Regions from separate parts of the Homo sapiens genome. Here region 2 is linked to region 1. Evidence: promoter capture Hi-C in 16 types of primary human blood cells and fetal thymus (Javierre and others, 2016). All regions are on one chromosome and are shown on one strand. Each heading gives the region's core, a stretch centred on a gene start or on the middle of the fragment in contact. The rest is flanking DNA. Distances are from core to core; before and after follow the strand shown.

The links. The method cuts DNA at HindIII sites, captures the fragments that hold promoters and counts their contacts. A CHiCAGO score of 5 or more calls a contact.
Region 2: the fragment with the promoter of PSME2 here is called in contact with a fragment that was not itself captured in region 1 in 1 of 17 cell types (erythroblasts); the score reaches 7.3 in erythroblasts.

Annotation. Positions count from the first base shown.
Region 1 is chr14:23,305,589-23,311,562 of GRCh38, reverse strand. BCL2L2-PABPN1 (BCL2L2-PABPN1 readthrough) reads right to left here and starts at 4,730. Exons shown (of 8, transcript NM_001387346.1): 1 at 4,669-4,730; 2 at 4,284-4,371; 3 at 3,364-3,803. The coding sequence starts at 3,795. BCL2L2 (BCL2 like 2) reads right to left here and starts at 4,730. Exons shown (of 4, transcript NM_004050.5): 1 at 4,669-4,730; 2 at 4,284-4,371; 3 at 3,364-3,803; 4 at 1-2,747. The coding sequence starts at 3,795. The coding sequence ends at 2,598. RefSeq lists an enhancer at 3,038-3,871. The HindIII fragment of the contact is 1,163 bases long and covers 2,195-3,357 here.
Region 2 is chr14:24,142,025-24,147,862 of GRCh38, reverse strand. PSME2 (proteasome activator subunit 2) reads left to right here and starts at 1,253. Exons shown (of 11, transcript NM_002818.3): 1 at 1,253-1,329; 2 at 1,623-1,655; 3 at 2,091-2,153; 4 at 2,398-2,484; 5 at 2,590-2,620; 6 at 2,708-2,805; 7 at 3,395-3,463; 8 at 3,604-3,671; 9 at 3,834-3,888; 10 at 4,192-4,278; 11 at 4,374-4,498. The coding sequence starts at 1,282. The coding sequence ends at 4,454. It overlaps RNF31 (ring finger protein 31), which reads right to left and starts at 365. Exons shown (of 21, transcript NM_017999.5): 1 at 1-365. The coding sequence starts at 164. MIR7703 (microRNA 7703) reads left to right here and starts at 4,298; the gene lies at 4,298-4,374. RefSeq lists silencers at 98-327, 358-447, 1,148-1,207 and enhancers at 289-583, 130-630, 768-837. The HindIII fragment of the contact is 5,988 bases long and covers 1-1,572 here.

The DNA of each region.
Region 1 (5,974 bases), core at 1,527-4,026:
AAAAGTAAAATAGTGTTTGTGTGCCCTAGAATAAGTGGGGAGTGGGATTAATAATCGCAGGACCGAGTTGCCCTACTTCCGCTCCTTCCTTGGCCTAAACAAAGTCCCTATTTGTCCCTTTGGGCTCTGGAGAGCAAGAAACCCCTCTCCTCCTACTTAATCTTTGAAAAATGGCAATTACATTTATTTCCCTTATTTTTTAAAAAATGAAATGGATTTAAAAATTGGGAACCATACTCAGCCTTCTTGGCCAAGAGCTAATCCCAAGGAACTATATGGCTCTAGAAGAGAGTCCCTAGTTTTCCCTGACAGAAGAGTCTCTGGGGTTTCCCTTCAAGCTAAGAAGGGCAGGACAGGTCAAAATTGCCCACTGTGGTCCCATCTAAGCTATGCTTCTGGGAATCCAGACCAAGCCCTTTACCCTTTCAGAAAACAGCCTCTCTTTCCACCCAGGTGTCAAGGCTTCAGAGCAGGGCATTTTGGTAACCTGGCCATGGTCCCTGCAGCTCCTCTTGGCTAAAGGTCCCGGGGAATGCTAACAGGGATATGTGTCCTGTGGTAGAGGGTAGGGTGAAGAGTGTGCTCCATACCTGGGGAAGGAAGCACAGACTCCAATTTGGAGCCGATGGTCTAGTCAGTGGTTTTCCAACTTTTTTTCAGCAGCAAACCCCTTAATGCAAATAAAATCTTACCCTGAACCCCAATATGTAAGACAGCTACAAGGGGAGCTGTTCTGTTTGAGGGCAAATTGCCCAGCCTGCTCAGCTCCCCACCCCCTTCATCTCCCCAAGGACTCCTGAGGCAACCCCTAGGAAACTTCAGGGCTCTGCCAAGCAGTTTGAAAACCACTGGCCTAGTTTGTCCTGAGCAAGTCAGAGACCCCCCACCCCAACTGCTTGCCACAAGCTGGCTCTGAGTTTCTGGTGTCAGCATACTCACAACAAGACCAAGTGGCACATGCAGCCTACCACCTCCCCTAGAAATACCATGAAAAAGTGCAGCCCTCTCTCAAAAGCAGAAGTCTGGACTCAACACCTGAGGCCAATTTGGTCCCACGTTCTGGCGAGCACAACTACGTTGCCACATTCTAGGACCAAGTGAAAATCTCCAAGAAGAGTCAACCATGGTCTAGCTAAGGTGATCAGTGCTCAGGACCACAGGCAGGGTTCTAGAGCACTGTGTCAGAAAGTTAGCATTGGAGAGCAGCAATCTTAGCACCTTGGAAAGTGCAGCAGTGAGGTCTGGCTCAGGGCATGCATCTGGAGTGAATAATTTCTTCCTCAAAAGAAAAAGCCATAATCTGAAGCTGTTCTAGAGGACTGCGAGTTCCAAAGTTAACATCCTCAGACTCTGAGGTACAGACAAGTAACACCCATGCAAACAGTGTGGCTTCAAATAAATCATAAATGCTTCTAGGTCATGGTAGGTACTCTAGAACCCATATGCCTGGCCCCTGATAAAGCCGAACCAAAGCCCACAACACAGCATAGGCCAGTCCTGGAGTACCCATCACCCTCACACCCATGGGATTCAGATCTGAAATGGTCATCTCAAGGCATCAACAGTCTCACTGAGACACAGTGTGGGACCCAGACTGTATTCTAGATCAGCACTTATGCCCACAACCTCAAAAGGAAAATTAGTTAGGGCCCCAATTTAGAGTTTCAGTTTGGGTACAGAGGTCCCAGAGATTGGAAACACTTTAGGCACCATTGTGCCTGAGTGGGAGAGGAGGGTGGCAGGCAGGTCCGGCTACCTAAGCCTCCACCCATCCAGGCTCAACAGCCCTGCCCTTCTATCAGAGCCCAGGAGGCAGCAGCAAGTGCATAATGCACAAGGAAGGGGGATGATGAAGGAACAAGGCCAGCTGCAGAACTGCTCTTCTCTCCAAAGCCTTGCCAATCACTTTCTGGAAAGAAGCAGCAGAGCCCTCGGTCTGGATACAATGTTTCTCTCTAAGCCTTGAGGCATCAGGACAAGGGCAGGGGAAAGGAGGGGTTGGGAGGAGGGACAGAGAACTGCCCCTAGTTCTTGCCATTGCAAGAGGGAATGTTTTCTCCTTGAGGAATCCCATCACCACCAGATTTGCCAGGCAGCCCAGCATGCACACCAGCATGCGTGCACATGCACACGCGTGTCCAAGCAGCCCACTGTTAACAGCCACCTCTCCCTATCACCTGAGAACCCCTAAGCTTCCATTCCAAAGGGATGTGCCTTCTGCGTTCCCTAAATCCCACTCATCTAATGGAATACAGCTGCTTATGTAAGTCCACCTTCCTCAGGGCTGTGAAGCAAGTTCCAGGTCGTTTCATGTGCCCACACCTATAGGCGTGATCCCTCCCACCTCCCCCAGCCCTGGAACGACTACATCTCCTGTGCCCCTAAACTTGCCAAAACATTCCCCTCCCCTCTGTGTCCTGCTCACTCTTCCAATCGCCTACCTGGCCTACTCAGCTCCCTCACACACTACCCTTTCTCTGCCCATCCTGTTCCATGCCCACCCATCCACCAACTCCACTTCTTCCAAGGGCATTTCTCTGTTCTGTTCCTGCTCTCCTGGCCCCCAGCCACACCTAGCCCCACCTGGCCCTGGACTTTCACTTGCTAGCAAAAAAGGCCCCTACAGTTACCAGGGCCCCCAGTGCCACGGCCCCCGTCAGCACTGTCCTCACTGATGCCCAGTTCCCCTCCCGCAGACGCCGCGCCTCCTCCAGGGCCCCGTCCCCGTATAGAGCTGTGAACTCCGCCTGTGGGAGAGAAGGGAAGCAGGAGAGAAAGAAGGAGAAAGGGATATCAGGAGAGGAAAGAGTGGAGAGAAGAGGAGAGGAAGAGTTCCAGTTCCATCCACTGCGAGCACTACCCCATACCCAGCTCCTCTCTGGCCAAAGCTCTTCTCCCTGCAAGCCCCTCTGATCCCCCCAGGTGCACCCCCACCCTGAGAGACTGGTTCATCTGCCCACTCTGCCTCCAGTGAATTCCATCCTTTCCTTGGCGAAAAATTCTGCTCAGAACTAGCATCCTTTGCCAAGGCTTGCCTGACCACCACCCATCCCTGGTCCTCCCCACCTCCCACGCCATGACTCAGATGTAAAAAGTCCCTGACAACATTCCCCTGCAGGCACTCCTTGGGTGTGTATTCTGTCCTCTGCTTGGGACCATGAGCCCATCCAGTGTTGACTGCATGGCAGCCCTGGAGTGCAGAGTCCAGGCATCTCTCAATCTAATTCCATCCAGACGGGGAGACTCAGCCCCGTACCTCATTCCCAACATAGCTGCCTCAGCCTCCAATCAGAGCCCCCATCTTCCCCCTGGAGACCAGCTTTGCAGAAGGATGTGCAGAGCGGCAATTGAGAAGCTTCTTACCCAGCCCCCACTGCTGTGGATCCAGTCAGCCAGCTGCGTCTCCAGGTAGGCCACCATCCACTCCTGCACTTGTCCCACCAGTGGTTCCATCTCCTTGTTGACACTCTCAGCACACAGTGCAGCCCCAAAGACAAAGAAGGCTACAAGGCGGCCCCAGTTGGGGCCCCCTTGAAAAAGTTCATCGGAGACCTGGGTGAAGCGTTGTTGGGCTGAGCCTGGGGTCACATGCAGCTGAGCCGCCAGATCAGAGAAGGTGCGCCGGAAGCGGGTCTCGAACTCATCTCCAGCTGCCCGCATGGCTTGGTGCAGCGGGTCAGCTGCTGGGCCCTCCCCGGGGCCAGCTCCACAGACATAACCCTTCTGCCTCAGCTTATAACCTACAAAGTCTGCCACCAGAGCCCGTGTGTCTGGGGCCGAGGCTGGGGTCGCCATCCGGGCGGCTATAAGAGGCAAGGATGAAAGACTGGCATGAATATATGAAGAGAGAATCAGAAGGAGCACTTCTGGTTTGACCAACCCAGTGAGATGAGGAGGAGAGAGGAAATGCTCAGGACTCACTGGACAGGGAGAGGCAAGAACAAGGGAATTAAGTCATGATATGAGACTAGGCTGTGAGTGGCTGGCCATTACATTCCTAATATGCCAAATTAAATGTAAAACAAGTAAATTTTCTGTTTAGGATACTTTAGATTCTTTTCACAATAAGACAACGTCAGCTCAATGACACCCCTACAACACCCCCACCCCCGGGTCTCCTTAGTCCACACCTTCTTGGCTAGAGGAAGGGTCTTAGGACCTCCCCAAATGCAAGATGTAAAGATGTTGGCAGAGACACAAGATGAGGGGGAGCAGATGGGCTGAAGAGAAAGGTGGGAGACGCAATGGGTTACTCCAGACAGAGAAAGGAAGGAGACACTCACCCAGCCGGGATGGCAGCTCTTAAGACACAGCACTGGTGGCAAGGAGCCCCCAGCTGGGGCCTTTCATCCTCCTGGCCAGCGTGGAGCCCTGGAAAGGGGAGGGGGAGATCAGAACCAGGAGGGGAAGGCCAGGGATCAGGTTCTGGCCTGGGAAGGGCTAGGGTTGCAGCTCTGGGCCTAGGCCCCTGCCCCCAACGCTCTACCAGCTGTGTGGCCGAATCCATGTTTAATGACTGTCCTCCCGGGAAACCCAAGGCCAAGGGCTTCCTGCCGACACCATCTCTATTCCCGGTTCCCCCTAGTGCAGCCCAAAGGCCCAGCTCCTCCCTTACCCCCACCTCAGCCAGTCTCCAACCCCGCCCGCCTGCCAGGTTAGGGATCTCACGGGTCAGGCCGCTGCCGGGATCCGGGCCGTTTCCTGGTGCAGGAGCTGGGAGGGAGGGAGAGAGGGAGGAAGGGAGGGAAGGAAGGAGGGAGGAGAAAGGGGGGGGCAGAGGGAGGGCCCGGCGCCGGGTGATGATGGGGCCCAGAGATGCGTCCAGAGAGAGGGGCGGGGCTGGGACGCAGGCCTGCAAAGGGCCACTACTCAGGAAGAGGGAGGGCTGCTGAAGGCAAAGAAGGGCTGGCTGAGAGGGCACGGTGGGCTGGGCTGGGCTGGGCTCCTGAGCCTCTAGGCTGCCCAGAGAAATATGCCGGACTTCGGGACATCTCGGGGCAAATTTAGCATTTTCAGGAGGTTTCCGATGTTCCATGCACTTGTTGAACTTTTCCAGCCCTGAACTGTGTGCCTGGAAAACAGGAGCAGTTCCCATTAAGCTGGGAACCGTCTACCAGGTGCCTTACCCTTATGGGGCTAGCAGACACCACATAGACACCAAACCTTTCCCATCTTTTCTCCAGGACCTTTAACCCAGTGTTCTCTTTGTGGGCTGGGCTTCAGCCAGGCATTAGGGAGCCAGGACTTGGATCACAAGCAGTTTCTCTCGGTACTTTTCTTTAATTCATCTTCTTTTGTAATTAGATTGATTTTAGTGGGGTTTTTTTCTTTTTCTTTTTTTTACCCAACACACAAACTCATTCTCATTATGAAAAAAATCAAACAATAAAGACGTGCGGAGTAATAAAATACAGGTTCTCAAACACACACACACATACACACCCAATTCCACTTCCCTCCCTGCAGGTTGCCAGTGTTAAGCTTGATGTTTATCCTTCCAGATTACATATATATGGGGCCATTATTTATACATGGCAGTATATTTATACAGGGCAGGTCACAGGCGTGAAGCAGTCTGACCATAGCTGATCCACATGAGGGCACTCACAGCCAGCCCCCTGGGCTCTTGGATCTGGCACTTTTTTAAAGAGTGCCCCAACCAAAGGCCAGAAAGAGGCAACCTAATTCTCCTATTCTGCTAGCTCCCTTTGCTTCTACCTCCAATCCAAGCCTCTGTATTACCATCTTCCCTTATGGTCACTGGAGAAGCAAGGTCTTTTCTGCAGCAATAACAGTAACAACTAGCTGGGTTCGGTGGCTCATACCTGTAATCCCAACACTTTGGGAGGCCAAGGCGGGTGGATCACTTGAGGCCAGGAGTTCGAGACCAGCCTGACCAACATGGCAAAACCCCATCTCTACTAAAAATACAAAAATTAGCCAGACGTAAAATACAAAAATTAGCCAGCCTGTA
Region 2 (5,838 bases), core at 4-2,503, 840 kb before region 1:
CGTGCGGCGTCCAGCTGCAGGTAGCGGGCGGCTAGCGGCAGAGAGCTGGCTAGTAGCGGCCGGAGCTGCTCCAGGGAAAACGCCTGCCCGGAATCCCTCCTCAGGGCGCTCGCCAGCTCCTCGCGGGCCACCAGGAAGGCCCGCTCCTCTTCCTCCCCCGGCATCCTGAGGCAGGAGTCAGCCCCAGCCTCGCCGCCCGCCAGGACCCGGCGCGGGCAGCGCGCGGCCCGAGCGCCGCCCCTCCCGTCTGGTGCCCGGCTTTGAGGCCCACCCCGGCCCACGCAGCCGCCCCAGGTCACTCAGACCACGGTCACTCTCCAGCCCCCGGCCCAGCGCCAGGGTTAGCCGAGAACAGGAAGTACTAGGAGAGAGGGTGGGACTGCGACCCAATTTCGGAGGAACGGGCGGGGCTTAAGGTTAAGGTTGGAGCGGTGTCAGGAAACCAGGGGGCGCGGCCAAGAGGGAGGGCCAGGTCCCAACCAATGAGAAGGCAAATGGCTCCTGGCTCCTCCCTCAGAGCGCGCCAGCATCTTCCCTCAGTCAAGCGCTCTTCCCCGCCTTCCCCCAATCTGGTTCCACCCCTTCCGGATAGCCGCAGGCGCGGGGTTATCCTATTCAGCTCAAAACCTTTCTTTTTCTAGCTGGACCAGTCCGGTACGCTCCGGGCCTCACCGAGGAAGTCCCACCCTGCAGGGGAACCGACTCTGGCCGGCCCTAACCCCTCTCGAGCGAGTCCCGCCCCATCTCCGGTCTGTCCTGAAGGCAGAGGGAAGACCCTCACCCAACCCCTGCCCGCTCTCTTCTAAGAGCTGCTAGTCCTTCTCCACCCCAGGCGCTCCCTCTGGCTGCCCCTCCCACTCGCTCTGATCTCTCTCCGTCCGCTACTTGCGGTCGAGCCTTCTTGGGGGAGCCCCGCCACTGAATACCCCCTTTGCCATACTCCCACCTCTCTTACCCCAACCCTGGACTTCCAGTTGGCCCTAGCTATAAGCCCCGCCCCTCTCCGAGGGACAGCCCCCGCTCCAGTCTCCGCGGTCCCACTTACCCTAGCCCCTCCCTCGGGCAGCCCCTGGACTGTGACCCAGCCAGCACCGCCTCTCCTAGTGGCAACTGGCTGGGAATGGCTGAGGGGCTACCTACTGCTTGCGGCCTGCCAGCGGGAGGAGGGGGGCGGAAAGAAGAAAGGGGGCGGGGTTGAGGGGGGCGGGCCTGGACCTGGGGAGTGAAAGCGAAAGCCCGGGCGACTAGCCGGGAGACCAGAGATCTAGCGACTGAAGCAGCATGGCCAAGCCGTGTGGGGTGCGCCTGAGCGGGGAAGCCCGCAAACAGGTAATGGGGAATCGGAGGCCAGGAAGGGGTCATAGAACCCTCTTGGGTGGAGGCCAAGCTGGGTGGTTCAGGGGACCAAGCAGTGCCAGAGAACTCCCCCAATCTCGCTAGTGCCTTCACTTCTCGGGGATTCCCAGATTCCTGCCTTCTGACTGCAGTGAGCAGGAGCTTCCAGGGAAAGCTAGTTTGTGGTGAGAAAGGCCTGAGCCACAGTTCGAGGGCACCCTGTTGTGGGTGGAAGCTTTTGACAACCCAGACCCTTAACCAACATCCGGGTACTGCTCTCTGTGTAGGTGGAGGTCTTCAGACAGAATCTTTTCCAGGAGGTAAGTCTCTGGATTTGAGCGATTTGACCCAGAATCTTGGACCAATACTTGAGGATAACAGCCTCTCAGAATGACCCCCCCAAGTCACCCTAGACTTAACCCTACTTCCCTTACCAAGCCTTCACCCAAAGTAACCCCGGAATTATTGATAGCTACCTTTAATCTGACCTTTCTTATGACTCTCCCGACTTCTGGCACTTCTCCCGTCTTTTGATGTGGAGGAAAAAAACCATGGCTTCCAAAGCAGGAATATCACAGTCCTAACCTTCGTTCTGCCATTTACCAGCTTGGGCAAGTCCTTTCATTTTCAGGTCTTCAGTTTCCTCATTTGCAAGTCTTGGACCCAGTGATTTCCAAAGGCCCTTCCAGTTCCATTTGTCAGACATCTCATTGAGCATATTCTGTGATTCCCCTCCCTTGCAATGTAACCCACAGGCTGAGGAATTCCTCTACAGATTCTTGCCACAGAAAATCATATACCTGAATCAGCTCTTGCAAGTGAGTAGTGTGGGCCCCTTCTGCCCCATCCTATGTCCTCTATCCCCTTTGCCCACCCTCTCTAGCTAACAACTGGATTCAGCATGCAGAGAATAGTTTCAAATAGTGGATTAGGAACATTAGGATGGCGTGAGGCATGAGCCTAGGTTGGGAGGCAGAGTGCAAGTGGGATGTATGGAGGGAAGGCTGTGACCTAGGATGAAGGGAAGAGGTTGGGCAGCCCTTGACAGTGAGCTCTGTGCAGGAGGACTCCCTCAATGTGGCTGACTTGACTTCCCTCCGGGCCCCACTGGACATCCCCATCCCAGACCCTCCACCCAAGGATGATGAGGTGAGGCACTCAGGGTGCAGGACTTGGACTATAAACCCAATGGAGAAGATAGCCCTTCAACCTCTGTGACTTTTCTAAAGCTACTTTCCCCCCTTTTTGCCTTAGATGGAAACAGATAAGCAGGAGAAGAAAGAAGGTAAGAGAGATAAGAGGTGACTAGGGAAGGGGTGATGGCACACTGACTACTGGATGAGAAAGGGCCTGAATCCCCTCTTTCTCACAGTCCATAAGTGTGGATTTCTCCCTGGGAATGAGAAAGTCCTGTCCCTGCTTGCCCTGGTTAAGCCAGAAGTCTGGACTCTCAAAGAGAAATGCATTCTGGTAAGCCTGGGAAATGGGGGAAGCAGAAAGAGAAGACACACAAGGTGAGGCCCTGGACTCCTCCGTAGATACAAGTCCTTCATACAGAGACCTAGTCCTGAAAAAGAAAACTTCCTTCTGTGCCTTGGGCTTAGATCCCCTTTGTTCTCCTCGTTCTGTTAGACCTCTCTTATCACAACGGTACCCCCAAAATTAGAGACTGTGCAGTATCCACTCTGTAACCTCAGAACCTACTGCTGTATTGGGTTCATAGTAGAGGTGGTATGATATAGTGAGTGAATTGTTTTAAAAGATTGGACCCTAGAGAGAGACTGCTTAGGTTCAAATCGTGATTCTATCAGTTACCTAGCTGGTAGCCTTAAGTAAGTCACTTAGACATTCTGTGACTCAGTTTTTTCATCTGTTAAATGGGTACAATAAATACATATCTCTGAAGGTTGCTGTGATGATTACATGAAATAAATACATGGCACAGTACCTGGTATGTAATAAGTACCCAATTAAATATAACTTTTTTTAGGAAGTGACAGTAATAGGAAGAACTCAGTATGTTTGTTGAATGATTCTTACATGATACCTCTTAACACAGGTGATTACATGGATCCAACACCTGATCCCCAAGATTGAAGATGGAAATGATTTTGGGGTAGCAATCCAGGTAAGAAAAGGGTAACTGAAGATACTTAGAGTGGGGAGAGCCTCAGGGGGTGAGCTAGACATGAACCAGGAGGAGGAGGAAGATAGTGTATGAAATGGGGAGGACATGAAGTGTTGTCTTTGCCTCCCGTGTCACCACAGGAGAAGGTGCTGGAGAGGGTGAATGCCGTCAAGACCAAAGTGGAAGCTTTCCAGACAACCATTTCCAAGTGAGGGCAGCTGGAGGACCAGCATTGGGGGCAGTAGGAGCATTTCTTTGGGACCCCCAGAGCTGGGCAGCCCTATCAGGATGATGGGAGACTTTGGGAAGGGTCTGAGGGAGTACATCTCCCTGAACACTCATTCCTGTGGTATTCCCTTGCTTCTGGCAGGTACTTCTCAGAACGTGGGGATGCTGTGGCCAAGGCCTCCAAGGAGACTCATGTAGTGAGTGGATAGTCCACCAGCCTTTTAGCTGGGTGTGGGACGAGGAGGTGTGGAGGAAGAAGTCCTCCTTGTCTTGTTTGTGACTTTCCCAATGTGGAGAATATTAAGCTAAAAGCATTACCTAGAAAAACTGGTTTGGGCTTCAACAACCTTGACCCTTTTCTCTGCTCAGTCCTTTGGGATCCTATTTCTTGGTGCTAAGAAGGGGTTCATTCTCAAGTTAACCTATTTCCTATAAAAGGAAACCAGACTCATGTCCCAGCCTCCCATGGGACTGACTCAGCTTTGCCTCCCACATTGCAGATGGATTACCGGGCCTTGGTGCATGAGCGAGATGAGGCAGCCTATGGGGAGCTCAGGGCCATGGTGCTGGACCTGAGGGCCTTCTATGTGAGTGTGGAGTAAGGCTTTAGGGGAGGTGGATGAGTGGGGGCAGGCAGGGGATTGGCTAAGAACCTGACTCTTGCACTCTGGCCTTCTCCCAGGCTGAGCTTTATCATATCATCAGCAGCAACCTGGAGAAAATTGTCAACCCAAAGGGTGAAGAAAAGCCATCTATGTACTGAACCCGGGACTAGAAGGAAAATAAATGATCTATATGTTGTGTGGATTCCCTTCTGGCGTGTGTCATTCATTCAAAAAGCATTTATTGAGTGGCACCTATGTCCAGCCTGAAGATGAATGTGGTGGGAAGGGGTGGGTGTCACAAAGACAAAGATGACTTAGATGCCCACTGTAATCTTGACTGTGAGAAAGAGGGGATTCAGGCCCTTTCTCATCCAGTAGTCAATGTGCCATCTCCCCTTCCCTAGTCACCTCTTATCTCACTTACCTTCTTTCTTCTCCTGCTTATCTGTTTCCATCTAAGGCAAAAAGGGGGGAAAGTAGCTTTAGAAAAGTCACAGAGGTTGAAGGGCTATCTTCTCCATTGGGTTTATAGTCCAAGTCCTTCACCCTGAGTGCCTAGGGTGGGGATTGTTACATGCCATGGCAGCCATGCAGATAACCTGTATTTTGGAATGTAACAGTATTATTTTCATCCAGAGGTCTCAGGAATTATTGGAAGAGATGGCATTTGCACAGAGCCCTTATGGGAATAATCAGGCTTTGGATACACAAGGGGAAAGTTCTGTGGTCAACATCAGGAATGAAGAAAGAAAGAATCCTCATCAGTTCAGGAAAAGCCTAGAAGGAGAATAAGGTTTCACTGGGAGAACTATGGAGAACTACGGATGAATGATTGGACTCCCCCCACCCTTTTTTTTTTTTTTTTGAGATGGAGTCTTGCTCTGTTGCCCAGGCTGGAGTGCAATGGCACGATCTCAGCTTACTGCTACCTCCGTCTCCCGGGTTCAAGCAATTCTCCTGCCTCAGCCTCCCGAGTAGCTGGAATTACAGGCATGTGCCACCACACCTGGCTAATTTTTTTGTATTTTTAATAGAGACGGGGTTTCGCCATGTTGGCCAGGCTGGTCTCGAACTCCTGACCTCAGGCGATCCACCCACCTCGGCCTCCCAAAGTGCTGGGATTACAAGGCGTGAGCCACCGCGCCGGGCCTGGACTCCCTCCTTAAGGGCTAGGAGGGGAAAAAATAATGCTTCCAAGGCACTGTGGTGAAGGAAATACATCGCAGGACATTATGGGAAGGATGAATCTGTAAGTTTTTCTTACTGTCCTCCCCCATATCCCCTTCAGCCAATCACTGTCTTTATCTCTGCTTTTCAAGATTCAGCCCTGGGCTGGTGATAGAGACAAGGGTTCCTTTGCTGTGATCTTGCTGTAAACTCCATGGGATTGTTCTTTAATTCAGGGCCTTATCCTGTCATAAAATATGAGATAAGAATGTGCTGCGAAGCACTAGACTGGCTGGAAGCCTGCCCCCATACATATCTCATTAAATCCTTAAAGGAACACGGGCAAAAGATAAACCAAGGGCAAGAAAACCTGCA